2 separate regions of the Homo sapiens genome follow, and region 1 is linked to region 2. Evidence: promoter capture Hi-C in human tissues and cell types (Jung and others, 2019). All regions are on one chromosome and are shown on one strand. The core of a region is centred on a gene start or on the middle of the fragment in contact, and the rest is flanking DNA. Distances in the headings are between cores, read along the strand shown.

The links. The method cuts DNA at HindIII sites, captures the fragments that hold promoters and counts their contacts. A contact is called where the count stands out against the background at its distance.
Region 1: a fragment that was not itself captured here is called in contact with the fragment with the promoter of CDK5RAP3 in region 2 in 2 of the 25 tissues and cell types used here (adrenal gland and lymphoblastoid cells).

Annotation. Positions count from the first base shown.
Region 1 is chr17:48,239,106-48,244,104 of GRCh38, forward strand. The region is part of intron 4 of SKAP1 (src kinase associated phosphoprotein 1); the gene reads right to left. Among named protein-coding and RNA genes, the nearest start is that of SKAP1-AS2, 53 kb to the right of the region's middle. The HindIII fragment of the contact is 4,655 bases long and covers 1-4,226 here.
Region 2 is chr17:47,967,544-47,972,568 of GRCh38, forward strand. It overlaps CDK5RAP3 (CDK5 regulatory subunit associated protein 3), which reads left to right and starts at 3,570. Exons shown (of 14, transcript NM_176096.3): 1 at 3,570-3,609; 2 at 3,819-3,864. The coding sequence starts at 3,604. RefSeq lists a silencer at 3,221-3,510 and an enhancer at 3,932-4,559. The HindIII fragment of the contact is 4,856 bases long and covers 1-3,745 here.

The sequences.
Region 1 (4,999 bases), core at 649-3,148, 270 kb after region 2:
AAATGCACCCTTTAAAAATATGAACACTTGGGGTGACCACAGCTTCCTGAAGACAGAAATGAATTTAACACAATAACCATCTCTGGACAGTGAAATTCACATTCCGCACCACCACCAGCCCAATTAAAGGGAAAGAATTTCGACTTGACAATCTGCCCTTCAGTATCTCAGACCCAGGCTGAGGGCAGATCTAGTGACCTCCTCCTGAATAAAAAGGGGAAGGGGATTGGGCAGTAAATTCTGTCCTGGCGAACATCAGCCTGGCAGTAAATCGGAATCCTCTCTGTGCCCTCTTTATTATCACATTCACAGCATGAAGTTATGAGCTTCCTCACAGCTCCTGCTATAAAAATGTGATGGATGGTAGGGAAACCTCAGGGAGTTAATCTATTCTTCCATTAAATTTTACTTTAATTGGTCTGTGAGTCAATCAGAAACTCACTAGACAGTGAATTAAGAAAGAAAAGAGTGAAATAGAAAAAGCTTTCTTTTGCAGTTACTATATTATAATGCAGAATTATTCTTCCATTGAAAGAAAACTGAGACCATTGGTCCATACAAATAATCCCTGGCTCTGTAAAGAAAATGAGAGAAAAACAGGCAACCATGAATCCTACTCACTGGTGACATTAACACATATGACATTACACATACTCACACGTATCTCACCAAGGAAAAGCAGGCTTCTCAGACCCCCTCCACCCCCACCAACAGTAATTAGAATGAGAGAGAGAGAGAGAGAGACAGAGAGAGAGAGAGAGAGAGAGAGAGAATGAACTTGAATCATGGCCTCTAAGAAAATTAATACAAAGAAAAATAAGCTGTTGAGAACCTCTATCATCAGTAACATAACTCTATAGGTACAAAAGAAGGTAGATGTTAAAGACCAAAGGTGGATCAGCTGAAATGTTCATGGATTCAGTTAGTAAAATGTTTGTGCAGTATTTAAGGCCATAATGGGCTCTGATAAAGATTCTCAGAATCTAATAATGGCCTCTCTGGACTTCTTGTCTAATTAGTGGAATAAGGAGCGAGCCAGCTTGGAATTGAGCATTGCTAGATATGAGGGAGAAGGGAAAAAAAAAAGCCAAAGCTGCAAGAAAAATAAACCAGAGTAAAGGAGAAGAAAAACAAGAGCAGCCAGTGCTTTCAGAACTGCTCCTGAGCTGACAACTGAAGTTTATGCCTTGAAATATATGATAATAAGATTTTATGGGAGTGAGCCCCAGGGACCCAAATGTCTCTCTGTAAACAACGGACCTCAGGGAAAAGCCAAGGTTTGAGTAATGTACTCAGTCTCCACTCATGATAAAAAAATAAAAAAAAGCAAAAAAGCAGTGAAGACAGGAAATAACTCCTTTTATTCTAACTGTAGAACCCTGAGTTGCAGCAAATGCCCTCTGAGGGCAAAGACAATCGACAACCAGTATAGAAATACAGTTGTCCCATATTCAGACAAGGGATTTAAACCTCAGCAGCCTCAAAAACCTGAGGTTGTATGAGAAGAACCTAGTAAAGTGCTGCCTGTCCACCCTTCACACATGGGCAATATATGTCCAGAAACCAAATGGTTTATTGTGCAGTGTTGTTCCAGTGGAATTACTGGAGGGACATCAGAATGACCTAATCCTTGAAGCATGTGCCAGTTATCCCAGTGCTGCAAAGAGTTAAACCTGAAAGTGCTGCCTGTTCCCACTCGTTCACAATCCAGATTACCTAGAAAGATATTACCAGCTGAACTCCACACATAGTATGATGGCTTCCTTTGAAGACTTGGGTCAGGTAAAGCTCAAAGTTAGCCTTAAGCAACTACTAAACGATGAAAGTCCCTAGTGTACTCTGAGACTAAATCAGGTTGCCTTTAAAATTCTTCATCTTCAAAGACAACAGCTCTATCCTCTTTTTATAAATGTGAGGCCATGAGACAGCAAAGTGCTATTTCTACTGGCATTAGTTCCACCTTATATATTAAAAAGATATTTGTTGTGCCCTAATCACTCTGGGTCCAAGATCATAAGGGACCTTGTTTCTTGGTGGGAGGCTATAGTGTGAAAAGGTTACTTAGTCATCACTAGCCTCTAGCAATGCTGGAACACCACACATGGGGCTCCTCAAACAGGAAGTCAAAGCCAGTTCTGACCCCTGGATGAACTCTGCATTTTCGGGCAAGAGGCCTGATGAATCTCCAGGGACAGTGCTGCCCTGTGTCTCTGTGTCCATATGTATGTGTTTACTCCTCTGTGTGCATGTGTGGAGGTGGGTGGTACTGAAGGGAAGCAGGGTGTGAAGGTTCTGGATAATTATGAAAATTAGATCTTTTACAGCAGGCTTCAAGCTCAATTTGGGCTGACAGCTCATGAACAGATCATCTGAAGTCTTAATAGGCCAATGCTAGTTCAATAGTTGTATGGTTAAATCATGCACATTTGTGCCTCAGCTGACACAAAAAGCAGACCCAGATGCCTCACATGGATCATGCAGATAAGTCTATATTTAATACTCTTCCTCTCTCGGGGAAGGCCTAACAAAGCAAAACAAAACAGATCTAAAACCATGCTTAAAACTTTCACCAGCCAAAGAAACATTCCAACATTCTTTTCACTATAAAACATCTAATAGTAGAAATGATACATGATTGATAAAGTGATTCTAAATATACTTAATTCTGGTGTCTTTTCAAAATATTTCTGAACCCAGCAGTAACAGATATAATCTTCCAAACTGGGAGTTTTTTCCATTTTTAGTTACCTGTCCCAAAAGCACTTATTCTCTTACTTTCCATTCTTTGCTGGTAGTTTTGTACAATGATGTCAAGATATCAAGGCTCCTGACACATCCTGAATTCTGAAAGAATGTGCTTCCTGAATATTCCTGATAATGGGCTTAGTATCAAAGGGGTTAATGAGGTTGAGTTAAGACAGCATTTCCTGCTTGAAGGAGAACTGAGTCCAACAACACTAGAAGCATTTTCTTATTATTTTTCTCTGCGTTTGCAGTAACTGCTTCTCCTGGAAGCTTTACCTGGGGGAAGGGATAAAGCAATATCACTAACCTGCCTGGCATCTGGCTTCCAGCAGGGAAAGAGGCTCATCCACCTCACCCCTCGGGCTTCTTTAACTGAATTAGCTGTATTAAGTGCCTTGGTAGCCCAGGGAATGAACGTCGTTGATCAGTGTGCCTAGAAAGGCATGTTTTCAGGGTATAATTCTGCCGGAGGAGAATGGACTCCCCAGCACATGGGCCTAAACTGCAGAGTAACAGAGCCCTAAATCTCCAGTTACAGATTTACAGCCTCCATTCTCCTTCTTTACTGCAAATACAATCCGGCAGTAATGGTCTAACACAGCAACACCATCACCAACTGGCTGATGGCTCGCATAAAAGCAATGTCAACCAAAAACTATGAGTTTATAAAAGGGAACAAACCCTCAACAGTGACAAGAACATGAAACCCATTAACAATTTAAACACTCTCCATTTTTTATTTCCCACCTTGAAGCTATTATTGCTGATAGAAAGCTCCTCAGTGGAGTTAACCACTGCAAGGAAGGGTTAGGAAGCTAGCTTAACTCCTAAGACAAGGGGTTATGTGGTTTGAACCATTTGATGGTGTGGTTTGAACCTTTGTTAATAGGAAGGCCATTTGATAACCTGTAGTGCAAAAGAAGGTCTTAGAATACTGTAAGTGTGATAGGATCTCCCCTAGTAGGTCTATCAAATTATTCTCAGGAACCACACTGAATAAAAACGGTTAGAATTGGATTGGCTAGTCTATTGAATATGCCAAGACTTGAGCCTGTACTGTAAAAGGAATGGTAGAATATTTTTTGGAGAAAGTTCTGTAAAAATCAAGAATCAACTCTTGGCATTATAACAATAAATGCTTATATGAAGTTTTATTTCTGTGATAGCTCTAACTCTTCGAAGGAACATTGCCACCACAATATTTCCATTTTGCAAATTGACTATACCTGGACTGTGATGTAAAATGTAACTCGTCACACACTATTACCTTCCAGTCTTTAGGTAATCAGATACAAACATTATAACTAATTTCTCAACTTAACTACAGGACTCTCCCATTTAAAACAAATATTACTGTGGAATTCTCTGGTGAAAAATGCTTGAGCAAGCCATCTCCCTCCCTGCCCTTTCAAATTCCCTGACTTCCCCTAGTAAAAATAAAAATAGGACTTTAAAGAGATATAATAAGCCCATGATTGGGTATTTTACCCCCAAAACAAAACTTCTTCCCTTTGTTCTATAAATCAGACAAACCCAATGGCAATAAGAAAGTTGTTCTCTTTGTGGTTTTGAGCTTTTTGCATGTGTAATTTGTCAAACAGTTCATCTTTTGGAAATAGGATCTTCACACTAAAAAGGAACAAAATCCTGTTTTTGCAAAGGGGAAAAAAAGGCCATGTTGAACATGGTAACATATATCCATACGAATAGTGCCAAAGAACTTAAAGTCCCTGATTTACATATATTGTGCTGATTGTTTGAGCATCAATATAAAAAATTTAATCTGTACTAATGGGCCTGGAGGAAGCGCAAATAAAACCGAGGAATAAGTACTTGTTTTGCAGTACAATGAATGCTATTAATATATATATAAAACAGGCTTCAGTGATGCATAAGCTATTGTATTCTAAAAATATTCCTACATTTTTGGCACTTTAAAAATGTATTACCTCACAAAGGACTATCAACCTATCTGCAGACTCTTAACCTGGGCTAGCATTAAGAAAGGAATCATTTCATTCTGCTTTTGTTACATGTACATAGATTTTGAACTAAGCAGATATGGCACCTGTTGGTTTTAAATGTCTCCTCCTCTAAGAAAAAGAAAGAAAAAAGTTCAGGAGAAGAAAAAGAAGAGATGTTAAATAAAAGACAAGAAACAAGGAACTAAGAGAATAAAATTATTTTCCCCACAGTGTGCAATGAAATCAAGCTACACTAATTCTACTTATAATAATGTTAGAAAATGGTTAGC
Region 2 (5,025 bases), core at 2,320-4,819:
CCATCTGCTAAATCAGCAGAGAACTGAGAGATTCCTGGTCAGAAACCTACCATACCTCTCTCTGCCTCCTTCTAGCTGCTGGGAGCCCCGATGACTAAAGTCTCCTGAAGGAGATAGAGTCGATGCCCTGGATGCCAGACCAATTATGTGCTTATCTACCCACAGACCCTGAAGTTCCCTGTGGCCTTGGAAAAGTGCAGAAACCCGCCAAAGGCCCATGCTCCTACACTCTTTGGGAACACAGAAGCATGTGCCTTTGGCAGGCTCTCCCCCAGAGCCTCTGCAGTCAGCAGAGGCAGGTTCTCTCCCAGAGCCTCTGGCTTTGGGACAGCCTCCCTGGAGTCAGTAGCTGGGCAGAACTGTTCTCAAACATCCTTCTGCTCCACGTGAGTCACCTTGGGGAGCTGTGGGTGGGGCTGAAGTGCTGGTGGTCCCTGCTTCCATCAACTCACCTGGGCTGGGTCTTCCAGACCCACCCTGTCCTGTTCTGCCCAGCCTGTTGGTTCAAGGAAGAGAGATAGATACACCTTGAGGGCAGGGCAGTGCCTTGCTCTTGAGATGTCCCAGACAGCCCCGAGCACATAGTTGGGGCCCAGTTAAGTGTGTGTTTAATCATGGAGGAGCCTGAGCAATTCCTACAGTCTGAGTCAGGCTGACTCAGATGGGAGCCAAATTCCCATGAAAGATCCCTGAAAAGGCCCTTAATTCAGCTCTATGAGCCATTTTCAGAGCAGTTTTTCAATCCGTTCTATAATAATAATGATCATATATGACATATATATATATTTTGAGATGGAGTCTCACTCTGTTGCCCAGGCTGGAGTGCAGTGGCGCAATCTGGGCTCATTGCAACCTCCGCCTCCCAAGTTCAGGTGATTCTTCCGCCGCAGCCTCCCGAGTAGCTGAGTAGCTGGGACTGCAGGCATGCACCACCACGCCGGGATGGTTTTTGTTTTTGTTTGTTTGTTTGTTTTTTGTTTTGTTTTGTTTTTGAGATGGAGTCTCACTCTGTCGCCCAGGCTGGAGTGCGGTGGCGCAATATCGGCTCACTGCAACCTCCGCCTCCCGGGTTCAAGCAGTTCTCCTGCCTCAGCTTCCTGAGTAGCTGGGATTACAGGCGTACGCCACCACGCCCAGCTAATTTTTGTATTTTTAGTAGAGACAGGGTTTCACCATGTTGATCAGGCTGGTCTCAAACTCCTGACCTCGTGATCCACCCGCCTCAGCATCCCAAAGTGCCGAGATTACAGGCGTGAGCCACCGTGCCCAGCGTGTTTTTTGTTTTTTTCAGAGATGGGATTTCACCATGTTGATCAGGCTGGTCTCGAATTCCTGACCTTAGGTGATCCGCCTGTCTCAGCCTCCCAAAAGTGCTGGGATTACAGGCGTGAGCCACCGCGCCTGGCCCATATATGATATTTCATATAGGGAGAGTTTACAAAGCATGAGAAATACAGCCACAGTATGTTGTAAACTGTCATGAGTTACTAGTGTGTTTATTTAAGCCTCTAAACAGAAATACCCTGAGATAGGATAGCTGTTATCTCCATGTGGGGAAACTGTGGCTATCAGATAGGTTATAGAAATGGTCCAAGACCTCACTGGGCAGAATCTAGGTCTTCCTGCTGCTGTATCACACTATGCATTTCAATCAAAAATTTACTAAGCCTCAAGTGTTGTGCTGTGGTGAACAGGAGCTGGGGAAGGAATATTTAGAAATGGCATACCCAGGGCCGGGCGCGGTGGCTCACGCCTGTAATCCCAGCACTTTAGGAGGCTGAAGCGGGAGAATCACGAGGTCAGGAAATCGAGACCATCCTGGCTAACACGGTGAGACCTCGTCTCTACTAAAAATACAAAAAAATTAGCCGGGCGTGGTGGCGGGCGCCTGTAGTCCCAGCTACTGGGGAGGCTGAGGCAGGAGAATGGCGTGAACCCAGGAGGCAGAGCTTGCAGTGAGCCGAGATCGTGTCACTGCACTCCAGCCCGGGCGACAGAGCGTGACTCCGTCTCAAAAAAAAAAAAAAAAAAAAAAAAAAAAGAAAAGGCATACCCAGCGCTGTGAGATCCTGGGGGATCTGGCCTCAGCCTACCCTCCCTCCTTACTCTACCCACTTCTTGGCCAATCTCAGACTCTCCCTTAGCTTCAGCCACCACTCGGACCACAGATTAGCCAGCTTGTGACTCTCCAAGCTGTATCTCCAGCCCCGACAACTCCCTCGAACTCCAAAATTATAGACCCAAGTGCCTTCTGCACACTTTCCATCTGGGGGTCTCCCAGCATTGCCAGACTAGGTTCAAAGCTAGACCCCCTCCTCCCCAACACCTGCTCAGCATCCTGCATCCCTGTCTCAGGTGGTGGTTCCCACCTAATCACCTAGGTGTCATCCTTAGTGTCTCTCTCCTCCACCCAAACAGCCAATCAATTGCCAAGTCCTATACATTTTCCTCCTAAATATTCCTCAGATCCAGCCCTTCCCCTTCCTCCTCATATCTTGTGTCCCAGCTCAGGCTATAATCCCTCGATAACAACCTCCTTCCAGCCTCCTTGTCCCCAGTCTTATCTCCCATGCATCCATCATCCCAGCAGCCTATCTGTACAGGTTCCTCCCTGCCTCAAACCCCTTCTGTGATTCCTCTGTCTGAAGGGATGAAGTCCAAGTTCCTTAATAAGTCTCCCTTTGATATGGCCTTTCCACCCTTACAGCCTCTCCTCTAGCCACTCGCTGCCTCAAACCATCTACGGTATAGAGGTTGGCCTGCCCGCGGAGCCGACTTCATCTTGAAATTCTTCATCATTTTGTAACAAGCAGCTGTGCATTTCCATTTTGCACTGGACCTCACAAATTACGTTGCCCGTCCTGCCTGCCTGTTGTTGCTTGCACCCCTCTTGCAGTTTGTGGCCACCTAAGCTTTGTCTGTGTAGTCTCCTCCACCTAAAACTCCTCTTCCCACATCACCCAGCTATCTTCAGCTCTTCGTTTAGACTCAATGTAGGTGTTCTCTTTGGGACGTCTCACCGACTCTCTTCCTTCCCCTTCCCTGCCCTAATCGCCCAACACGTTGCAGGTGCTCAACCATGTCTATTAGAGAAACTGAATGAGGAGGCAAAGCATGACAAGTGCCACAAGAGACCTGCACACTGCTCTGGATGGTAAAGCGACGCAAGGAGGGAAGAAGGTATTTGCAACGGCCTCCCAGATCGGCGCTAGGACCCCGCCAGCAGACGTCTCAATCTGCGTGGAGAAGACCCAGTGCCCGCCAGGGGAAGCGGCTGCCAGGCTGGGCTCTCGAGCGCCGCCTGTCGCAATCCCACGGCCGCTGCAGCGCACCCCCTCCCGTCCCCTGCCCTGAGCCCGCCTCGCGTCTCCAATTGGCTGTCTCCATTCTCCCGCCCCTCCCGAGCTCAGCCATTCGGAGCCTGGGGTGGGCGGGGCTTGAGGCCTGAGTGGAGCGTAAACCCTGATTGGCTGTACGGAAGGCGGCGACGTGGCCGAAGGATGCCCGTTTGTGTCTAAACGGAGGCTCGGCCACAACGCCACTGGATTGGTGGTAGGGCGGGGCGGGCCACAGTCTCCAGCCTGAAGCGGAAGTGGAGGAAAGATGGAGGTGTGGGGACAGGAGCTGGGTGTGCTGGGGACTGGCCGCGGACCCCTAACCTGTGTCTCCGGTCTCCCTCCGGAAGCGGCTCAACCCAGCCCATCGCTCTGGCCCCGTTCTGGCCCTGCAGGGTGGTGGTTGGGACGTTGAAATGAGCGCGCGAGTGGTACGTCCTCTCTCCGCGCTCACGCCCCCCTCCTCACCGTGTTTCCCGCCAGGACCATCAGCACGTGCCCATCGACATCCAGACCAGCAAGCTGCTCGGTAGGAGGGGGCGCCACCGCGCAGCTGGCTGTCGGGGGGAGGCCTGTGCGTTGCCCCCTGTGTCCAATAGCCGGGAGCTCTGACCCCTGAAAGCCTGAGTCGAGATGCTGACCACTGGCCTCGTTCTATGCCCCATCTGTGGCCAGACCTGCTTCCCTGATAGCAGCGGGAACGAACCATATGTACAGTCTGTTTGACCTGCGTTTTCTCCTTTAATAACATATGTTATCGTATCATTCAGGGACAGGATAAATGACTCGCTTTAAAAACAGTCAACCACTGCCGGGCGCGGTGGCTCATGCCTGTAATCCCAGCACTTTGGGAGGCCGAGGTGGGCGAATCACCTGAGGTCAGGAGTTCGAGACCAGCCTGACCAACATGGAGAAACCTTGTCTCCATGTCTCCATGACTAAAAATACAAAAAAATAAAAATAAAAAGTAGCCGGGCATGGGAGCACATGCCTGTAATCCCAGCTACTCGGGAGGCTGAGGTGGGAGAATTGCTTGAACCCCGGAGGCAGAGGTTGCGGTGAGCAGAGATCTCACTATTGCACTCCAGCCTGGGCAACGAGAGCGAAACTCCATCTCAAAAAGAAGACAAAAAACAGTCAACCACTAAGTGGCACATCTGAATTGGAACTTAAGTCTGTCTGACCCACTGTCCATGCCTTTTGCATTATGCCAGGAAAAAAAAAAAAAACCTCATTTAAAAAGCTTCCACCTCCCCCTTGATTTTAGGAGGAAGAGGGACCTAAGACCCAGTTGCAAATGAAAACCTTTTAGTGTCCAGGCCATCTCCAGGTTGTCTGTATGGGGCTTACATACTTCCTCCCCAGTTCATAGTCAGGGAAGGCCTCTTCATCTGATCACACAGCTCCTGGCATTTTAAAATGCTTATTGGATTCATGGATTTGATGCCAATCTTGTCCTTAAGATGGTGTCTGTTTGACTACCCCAGTCCGTTGCTTCTAGTTCTGTGACATCAACAGAATTTTTCTTTCTGAAAACTTTACAGGAATATAGCAGAGAGAGTATAACTGATACTAGTGTGGGACCCCAGCGTTTGACCGGTTGGCAGAGTTCAAGTTCTGAATTCACCACTCTGTAGTGCCATTTAGTCAGTCCTGCTTGGTGGTCACGGGGGAAGCTTCTTTAGCCTCC